Regions from separate parts of the Homo sapiens genome. Here all the other regions are linked to region 1. The links are contacts of gene promoters, found by promoter capture Hi-C in blood cells and fetal thymus (Javierre and others, 2016). All regions are on one chromosome and are shown on one strand. The core of a region is centred on a gene start or on the middle of the fragment in contact, and the rest is flanking DNA. Distances in the headings are between cores, read along the strand shown.

The links. Contacts are between HindIII fragments. The CHiCAGO score rates a contact against its expected background, and 5 or more counts as called.
Region 2: a contact is called between a fragment that was not itself captured here and the fragment with the promoter of IGF1R in region 1, in 1 of 17 cell types (total CD8 T cells). The highest score is 5.1, in total CD8 T cells.
Region 3: a fragment that was not itself captured here is called in contact with the fragment with the promoter of IGF1R in region 1 in 1 of 17 cell types (endothelial precursors); the score reaches 6.8 in endothelial precursors.

The regions. Positions count from the first base shown.
Region 1 is chr15:98,647,116-98,649,871 of GRCh38, reverse strand. It overlaps IGF1R (insulin like growth factor 1 receptor), which reads right to left and starts at 1,333. Exons shown (of 21, transcript NM_000875.5): 1 at 197-1,333. The coding sequence starts at 290. It overlaps IRAIN (IGF1R antisense imprinted non-protein coding RNA), which reads left to right. Exons shown (of 1, transcript NR_126453.2): 1 at 1-2,756. RefSeq lists silencers at 1,309-1,578, 1,949-2,008, 2,069-2,538, 2,549-2,598 and an enhancer at 2,610-2,756. The HindIII fragment of the contact is 3,709 bases long and covers 1-1,832 here.
Region 2 is chr15:99,254,599-99,257,354 of GRCh38, reverse strand. It overlaps LRRC28 (leucine rich repeat containing 28), which reads right to left. Exons shown (of 10, transcript NM_144598.5): 2 at 1,230-1,457. The coding sequence starts at 1,397. Among named protein-coding and RNA genes, the nearest start is that of LRRC28, 4.5 kb to the right of the region's middle. The HindIII fragment of the contact is 878 bases long and covers 910-1,787 here.
Region 3 is chr15:99,207,924-99,210,679 of GRCh38, reverse strand. All of the region lies in intron 8 of TTC23 (tetratricopeptide repeat domain 23), which reads left to right. Among named protein-coding and RNA genes, the nearest start is that of TTC23, 40 kb to the left of the region's middle. The HindIII fragment of the contact is 1,838 bases long and covers 415-2,252 here.

The DNA of each region.
Region 1 (2,756 bases), core at 84-2,583:
GCTCCAGACGAACGAGCCCGGGTCCCGGGTCCGCTGCAGCCTCCCTCCCGGCAGAGCCGCCCTGCGCCCCACCCCGCCGCTCCCGAGCCCGGGGGCCCGACAGCTGCGACGGTGGCAACTCGGGTTTCGCAAACAGGGCGCAGCCCCTCGGAGGAAAAGTTCCCGCAGTGGCCGCGGGCGGCGGGCACATACTCACTTTCTCCACTCGTCGGCCAGAGCGAGAGCGCGGCGGAGAGAAACAGGAGCCCCCACAGCGAGGTCGGGGACCCTCCTCCGGAGCCAGACTTCATTCCTTTTATTTGGGATGAAATTCCCCTTTCTCAAAAAAAAAAAAAAAAAAAAAAAAGAAAAGAAAAGAAAAAAAGGAAATGAAAGGAAACAAGTCTCAAACTCAGTCTTCGCTCCCCCTCCAAAAACAAGGGCGAAGGAAACAATACTCCGAAGGCGGCGCCGCCGGGGCCCTCCGGGTGCGCGGACGGGGCGGGCGGCGCGGGGCGGCCCCTCAGCGCCGGCAGCAGCGGCCCAGGGCTCGGCGGAGTCGGGAACCCGAGGCGCGCCGGGGCGGGCTGTCGGCGTCGTCGGCCTCCATTTTCAAACCCGGAGAGGCAGGAAGGGGGGAAAACTGCAAAGAAAGGGGGCAAAGCCCAAATCTGCCTAGGCGAGGAAAAACAAGCCCGGCCCTGGCCGCGCGGGAGGCGGCCGGACGCCCGAGCTTCCGCCGCGGGAGGGCGCGACGCAGTTCGCAAGATCGCCCCGAAGTCCGGGTCACAGGCGAGGCCGGCGAGGGGCAGAAACGCGGAGTCAAAATGAATGAGCGGCTCCCCCTCCTCCTCCTCCTCCTGGCTCCGCTCGCCGCCGCCTCCTCCCTCAGCGCCGCCGCCGCCGCGGCGAGCTCCTTCCCAAATCCAGGACACACACAAAGCGGCGGGCCGGCCGCGCCGCGCTCAGCACTCCCGCCGCGCCGCCCGGCTCTGCGCCGCCGCCCGCCCCGCGCCGGCCCCCGCCCGGCCCCCGCCCGCCGCCGCCTGCTCTGCGCGGGGGCTCCGGCTCGCTGAAGGTCACAGCCGAGGCGAGGCGCGCCGTGGAGCTGCCCCCGCGCGGGAGGGGCGTGGAGGGCGCGGGGGGATCCGGGGAGCGGGGCCGAGGGTCTGCGAGCGCCGGCCGTGGGCAGGCTCGCTGGCGGCGTCCCTCTCGCTCTCCCGCCTCTCTCGAGTTCGCCTGGTGCGCTCGCTCCTCCTCGGGTTTTTTCCCTTTTTTTTTCCGCTCAGCGGAGTTAATGCTGGTAAACAAGAGCCCCAGCCTCGCCGCGCCGCCGCCGCCGCTGCCACACACTGGGGGCTCGCGCGCGCGCGCGCGCCCTGGCCCGCGCACACGCGCCCGCTCGCACACTCGAGCGGCCACCGCCGCAGCAGCGGCGCGCCGAGGGCCCGGCCCAGGCCGGCGCGCGCAAAAAACCGGAGCCCGGTTCCCCAAGACGTGCGGAGCGGAGCCCGGGCGTGGGGCGCGAGACTGCGAGGCGCCGCCCCCATCTCCCGCCCCACCGCCTCCCGCGCGCACACAGAGACACGCGCGCGTGCCCACCCGCTCCCGCCCCCACCGCACTGCGCCGGCCACCCCGCACGCGCCCTCCCCTCCCGCCCGACTCCAAAAACAATGCCCCCGCCGCCGGTCCGGTCTCGGCGGGGCAGGGGTGGGTAGCCAGGGAAAGGCTAGGCAGGGGAGGGGTGGGCAGGAGAGGGGAGGGGTGGGCGGGGAGTGCGGGGCTGGGAGAGGTTCATTGAAAACAACAACAGCGCGGCTGGAAAGCGCGTTTCCCCGGTTCTTGAAAAGCTTCATTGTTTCTTGCAGCTGTTGCAAAATAAATAAATGCGTGCATGCGGCATTTTTTTCGCTGCGTACTGGAAAGCCCGAACGTGGCGGAAGGGGCGCACCTGGGAGAAAGGGGACCCCCCCCCCAGGCTACTACGCCGGGCACTTTCACGCCAGGCTGGGGTGCCCGCGGCGTTGCGACCGTGGAGCCCGGAGTTTGGGGGCTCAGGGGGAGCGGAGGGGGAAGGGCGCGGCCCGTGTGGCTCGGCCCAGAGTGGCTCGAGGAGAGAGGACCCCGCCGCCCCTCGCGGGCCCCGCGCCCCGGAAGGGGGGCCCAGACAGGCAGCGCCGCGTGCCCCGGGCGCGTCCCCGCGGCGGCCGCCAGAGGGCGCGGCGGGCGCTGGGGAGGGCAGCCCGCGGAGAGTCGCCTCCCTCCCTCCGGGGGAGGAAATGTGGGGGCCCGGGCTGGGGGCCGACTCGGCTGGGTCGCGCTGGCGTGGCCTCCCGGACCAGCCGCCCGCCCTGAGCGCTCTCCGCGGCCTCGCGCAGCTCAGGGCTCCACCACGTGGGCGGCTGCGGGGAGCGGCCGGGGCGCGTGCACGCTGCGGGTCTCCGAAGCTCGGGGGGCGTGTCCGGGTCCCGGGGCGCCGAGGAGGGGGTGGAGGCTGGGGCCGGGAAGCCTCCCTTGGCCGCGGTCCCGACCCGGGAACACGCCGCATGCACTCGGGATCAGCGGCTACTGCGGAAACCCACCCGCACCTGTCTCGGGTCCTCCCAGGCACGTTCCTCTTGCTTCGTTTGCTACGTAAGTGACTGGAAACCAGTACCGACCCTAAGTCTCCGCGGTTGTTTTCTTGAATGTGCAGGAGGAGAGGTTTCCCCAAAGCGAGACTCCCCTAGGACTGCCATCTAATGAATAAATGCTGCGGAGACCAGGTCCTCAAAGA
Region 2 (2,756 bases), core at 99-2,598, 610 kb before region 1:
CGTTAAAGGGTTAAAAAGTACTAATATGGTTTCATAGCACGGGATGATGACTTTGCAAAAAAGGATTCCTATAACTGCAAATAGATTTTCCAAGTTGGAAAACTGAAAAATCTAATTTCAGAAATATAAGTAGGCATTCAACATATATGCCAATATGCCAATCACAAAAGAACAAGACATACGTATCTATTTACTTCCAGACAGAGCAAAGATAAACTAATTTTATAATGCTTTCTACCCACTATAGGCATTGTACATAGATTAAATAAAACTTTTCCAGGAAAACATGCCATATACTTGAAGCCAATAAGATACAATTTCCAGATATTTAGCAAAGTCCAGTATAGGGAAGGGAATGAAGAATGGGTAAATTCACAAAGTAGTAAGATTTCATAAATCATCTAAAATGAGTAAGCACTAGAATTCAAGTACAAGATTCAAATAAGGTTAAGTGATAACCAGAAAAGGCCATACAAAGTAAATCCATTTAATACAGAGACCAAATTTTACAATAAATAATAGGAATAAAAAGCTTGATTTGGACATTCTCTTGAAAAACTTTTAGTTTATCTTATATGTAATACAATTCAGATTATAATGAAAACTACGTGCTTATTCTTAGAACATAAAAAGAGCAAATTAAATGTTGCCTTTGTGGCAAAATTTTTTCCAAAAAATTGTATGCTAGCCCAATTCAAAATCATTTGAGTTTCACAGGGCAATCATAAAGGTTTTGCTTTCAAAACACTGAAAAGTTACATTAAGCTTCCCAAGTGCATCTCTTAATGCTTTAATTTTCAAATCATTCTCCCTTTAATGCCTGTACCTCAAAAGCATTTTTGGTCTTTCTCGTTTACTTTTTAACTGGTCTGGTGAATGCTGTAATATTCAAGAATCACCTGAGAAGCTTAACACACAAACAAATTACAAGTCAGGACAGAAGCACATGCTAAACGAAGATGGGTTTCTGAATGGGTACTAACTTTATAAGTCATACATCAGTGAGTATTTTGCTTTCCTACACAACTTCTCCGGCAACCTCATAACTGCACGAACTTGGATAACAAATTCATAGCCAATGAGAAACCCCTGTGTGTGTATTTATATTAACTGTATATATAACAACAGGGGATATAAGTCTTGGTCTGAATACCTTAGGGTATGTAAATGTATCTTGATCAGGACCACATGTATAAATAATTTTTCAGTAGTGTAATATAATACTGTACCAAGGATGTCAGGGAGTTCCTTTTCATATAGAGTCTCTCCAAGTACTGCAGTCCCTCATCTTTCAGTAACTCCAATGGAAAATGGTGCAGATTCCTATAATTTAAGAACAAATTCTTGTGCTTTTCTAGCCTTGCCACAGAGATCGTCTTACAAAGTTCGGACGCCATGACTGAATATATCCCATCAGGCACGCTGCAGCACTATATCTTGTCAAAATTGGTCCATTTCTATAAAGAGAACGAGAAAATTTATTCATTGTAAGATTTTTTACAAGAATTGCCATATAAACCAGTTAGCACACAGAGCCACTTGAAGACACTGAAAAAAATAATTAATACATTCAATCCTACATTTTACTTTCAAAACTAAAACTGTCACACATATTTAGGAGGAGATTAAAATGAATAACAATTTAATAAAAATACTCTGATTAAGCAATATTTATTACTTATTAGAAATAGTCCTAATGGAAAAAAATAGTTTTTGCACTTGAGATAGGAAACCTTGTGTAAGAAAAACAGTGACCAGTTTCATAACATACAACCAAAGGAGAAGCTTAAAAATCAAATGCAGCAAACCCCATTTCTTTTATGAACTACCTCATTTTGTATTTAGCTTAAGGTACTTCAAAAATATTAAAATATATATTATTTATATCTAGAGCACTAATAGCTTCATTTTCTTCACTTCCTAATATATAAATATTGTCCTATATTCTGATTTTTTTCTTTATCTCTTTATTCTTTTCTTTCTTCTTATTTTTTTTTAGAGACAGGGTCTCACTCTGTTGCCCAGGCTGGGGCGCAGTGACTCAATCATAGCTCACTGTAGCCTCAACTCCTGGGCTCAAGTGATCCTCCCACCTCAGCCTCCCAAGTAGCTGGTACTATAGAGAGCACCACCACACTCAGCTAATTGTTTTACTTGTTCGTAGAGATGGGGGTCTCACTGTGTTGCCCAGGCTAGTCTCAAATTCCTGAGCTCAAGCAATCCTCCCACCTCAGCCTCCCCAAGTGCTGGGATTACAGTCATGAGCCACGATGCCTCGCCTCTTTGTTTTTAGCTTTATGGATTATCAGAGGCATCAAAGAAATAGATCCAGGGCCACACAGTCTCATTAGTTTAAATTATTTCAATGAAAGAAGAAACACTGCACTCAGAAACAAGAATCCTGTATTATTCTATAATATTACAATGTCTCTGGGTCTCCAGTTGCCTAATATGCAGAATGGAGATAGCAATTAATGTACTGGTTTAAAGGCCTGAGTCCAGGGCAGATTATTATAAATTCTCTTCTAGCTCCAAAATTGACAAGGGCAAGAAGACAAGTAACATTTGCCGTTTTATCCACTAGGCACAGAGCTAAAACAAACTTCACCATCAGTTAACACAAAAAGAAACAAACTCAAGGCTTCAGTAATTTGTCCAAGGTTAGACCGTTCACAAGGGATAAAAGCAAGGGTTTGATACCAGGTCCAGTGGATTTCAAAGCTTGGGTTCTTCACAGACACTGACTCACAAGATTC
Region 3 (2,756 bases), core at 84-2,583, 560 kb before region 1:
CCATCACCTGAGGTTCCTTGATGTCTAAGTTGCATTTTCTCTGCTTCTCTCTTTTGGACATAAAGGCTCTTACAGATGCTCACATGTTCCAAGTCCTGCTTCTCCCTTGCCTGCTCCCTGAGAACATCCTGCTCTTCTCCAGCAGACATGTTTCTCCTGTCAGCTGCTCCTGTGGGACACTATGTGCCTAGAATACTTTTTGCTTACTTAACAAAGAAGGAAATTGCTTTTTTTCTCTGGGACTCTTCCTAATCCTATATTTCTGTGGTTGAAGATATGCTCTTAACTTACACAAGTCTCATTTTTGTTTTTATTATTATTATTTTCAATGTGGGGAAGCCAAAGAAAAACCACATGGCACAGGTTACTCTCATATACTTTATCTGCTTTCTATTTCTTGAATCTCCTAAAGCTTTAATGTTTTAGAGCACTGCATTTCTGTCTTTCCTTTTCTGACATTATACCCTTATAATGTACCTTTTCCTAAATATATGAGAATAATGATTTAAATAATAGAATCATGTTTTAAAATGACATGTTATTAGTATTAATATGTAACATAAATATATAATCATATATCTCTAAATAAATAACACAACATATAATAATATATATCAAATAATAGGCAGGGCACAGTGACTTACACCTGTAATCCCAGAACTTTGGGAGGCCGAAGCAGGCGGACCATTTGAGCCCAGGAGTTCGAGACAGCTTGGGCAACATGGCAAAACCCTGTCTCAAATTAATACAACTAATACATAATTACAAATACAAAAAATTAGCCAGGCGTTGTAGCATACACCTGTAGTCCCAGCTATTCCAGAGGCTGAGGTAGGAGGACTGCTTGAGACCGGGAGGCAGAGGTTGCAGTGAGCAAAGATCATGCCACTGGACTCCAACCTGGGTGACAGAGTGAGACCCCTTCTCAAAAATATAATAATAATGATTTTTTTAAAACCACACTAGCTACCAATTATTGACCACCTTCTGTGTCAGGCTTTTGCTAAGTGCTTTACAGATGTCATCTCCTTTCATTCTTAGTCCTCTCTGTGTAGTGGATACTGTTAGTATTCCCATGTTCAAATGTAGCATCTAAAGCTGAGAGAAGTGAGGTCACTTCCAGGGTCACACAGGCAGGAAGCGATAAAGCTGGAAAGTGGCCCAGCAGAGCCCTGCTTATTCAACGCTAGTGTCCAAGCTCCTGACCATGGCACACATTACATTCACTGATGTAGACTGGAAACCCCACAATGCATTCAACAGAGCAAAGCCTTTACCTGTATGTATCAGGTGATAAAAAGATACCCAGATGTAATTCTTTTCTCATGTTGGCTATGGAAAATCCCATTTGTTATCTTTTGGGATTGGTTTCTCATCAGATTCTGATCAGTGATATTCACACAAAGCCTTTCCTTTATACTGGTGCTCAATATTCTTGCCAAATTCCAGAGTTTTTAAAAGGAAACTCTGTTGCCTTAGTAATACCAGAAATTGCATTTGTTTATTGCTTGTTAAAACGAGTCTCCATCCCTATGAGATCTGAAACTTGTCTGCAATGAGATAGTGTCTCCTCTTGTGCTCTGTAGAATTACTGCGTATAAACTTTCATTCAATAAAATATGCCATGGCTTAAGTTGTGCACCTGCCAAATTAACATACTGCCACATTCTGTTATTCAAAATTTTCTGTCTTTTCATCTGTCTAGTGTATTTCTTAAGCTACCAAGTACATTGTGGATACACTAGATAATAAATCCTCAAATCATCCCTGGCAGGTAGCCAGAAATGGAAAGGAGAAAATATTGCTCTCAAACATTACACATAAGAAAATGGAAACACACAAGATTACCCGAAATTGACTGATGCTTTAAGTAAGTTGTAGATGGATGTAAGACTATAATTTAGTTATTTCTTGATGTAGTACTCTCAATTCCTTTTTTATTAAATATAAAACTAAAGTAATTTTATTTTCTATTTTGCCTTTTCTTTTATGTGAATAGTGTACTCACAATGAGCTTCAGAAGGCTCATTGTGGGTTGCATTAGCTTGATAGCCTCCATTTCTGGCTGTGTTAGTGCCAGGACCATGAAATAGCCTGCAACAGCAACCTGAGGAGGTGAGGGGTAGGATGTGCTTCATTCTTTGTGCAATTGCGTGTTGTATTCATCTTTTTAATAAAATATTTTAGACACATATATATGTAGTATTATGTAAATTCTGTAGTGTAAAGAATAGTATACACACTACTAAGCTTACAAAATCTATTTCTGATAAATAGAAGCTTGTTATGCATTCTTCCCAATACCATTTTATTCCCATACATTATAGGCAATTATTATGCTGAAATTTAGTGTTTTTCATTCCTCTGAATGTTTTTGTACCTTTACTGTGTATATGTATAGCATATATATATGTGTGTATATATATATAAAATTTGTCATATTTTAAAACTTTATATGTATGTTTCCTTCTGTAACTTCCTTTTTTCCCATCTGTATTTTTGAGATATATCTCTACCAATTGATATAATCCAGCTCTAGTCTTTTCATTTTAGACCTCCATATGGTGTGTAATTGTCTGACTTTCCTCTAATTTAATTGTCTATTTTGATGAGGGTGAACATGTGAATTGTTTCCAATTTTTTACTACTGTAAACACTACTTTCATGATCATGCTTATATAAGTCTCTTTGGGCACATATGCAGGATTATCTCTGAGGTATATTCCCAGGAGTGGAATTGTTTACTTGACAAGCAT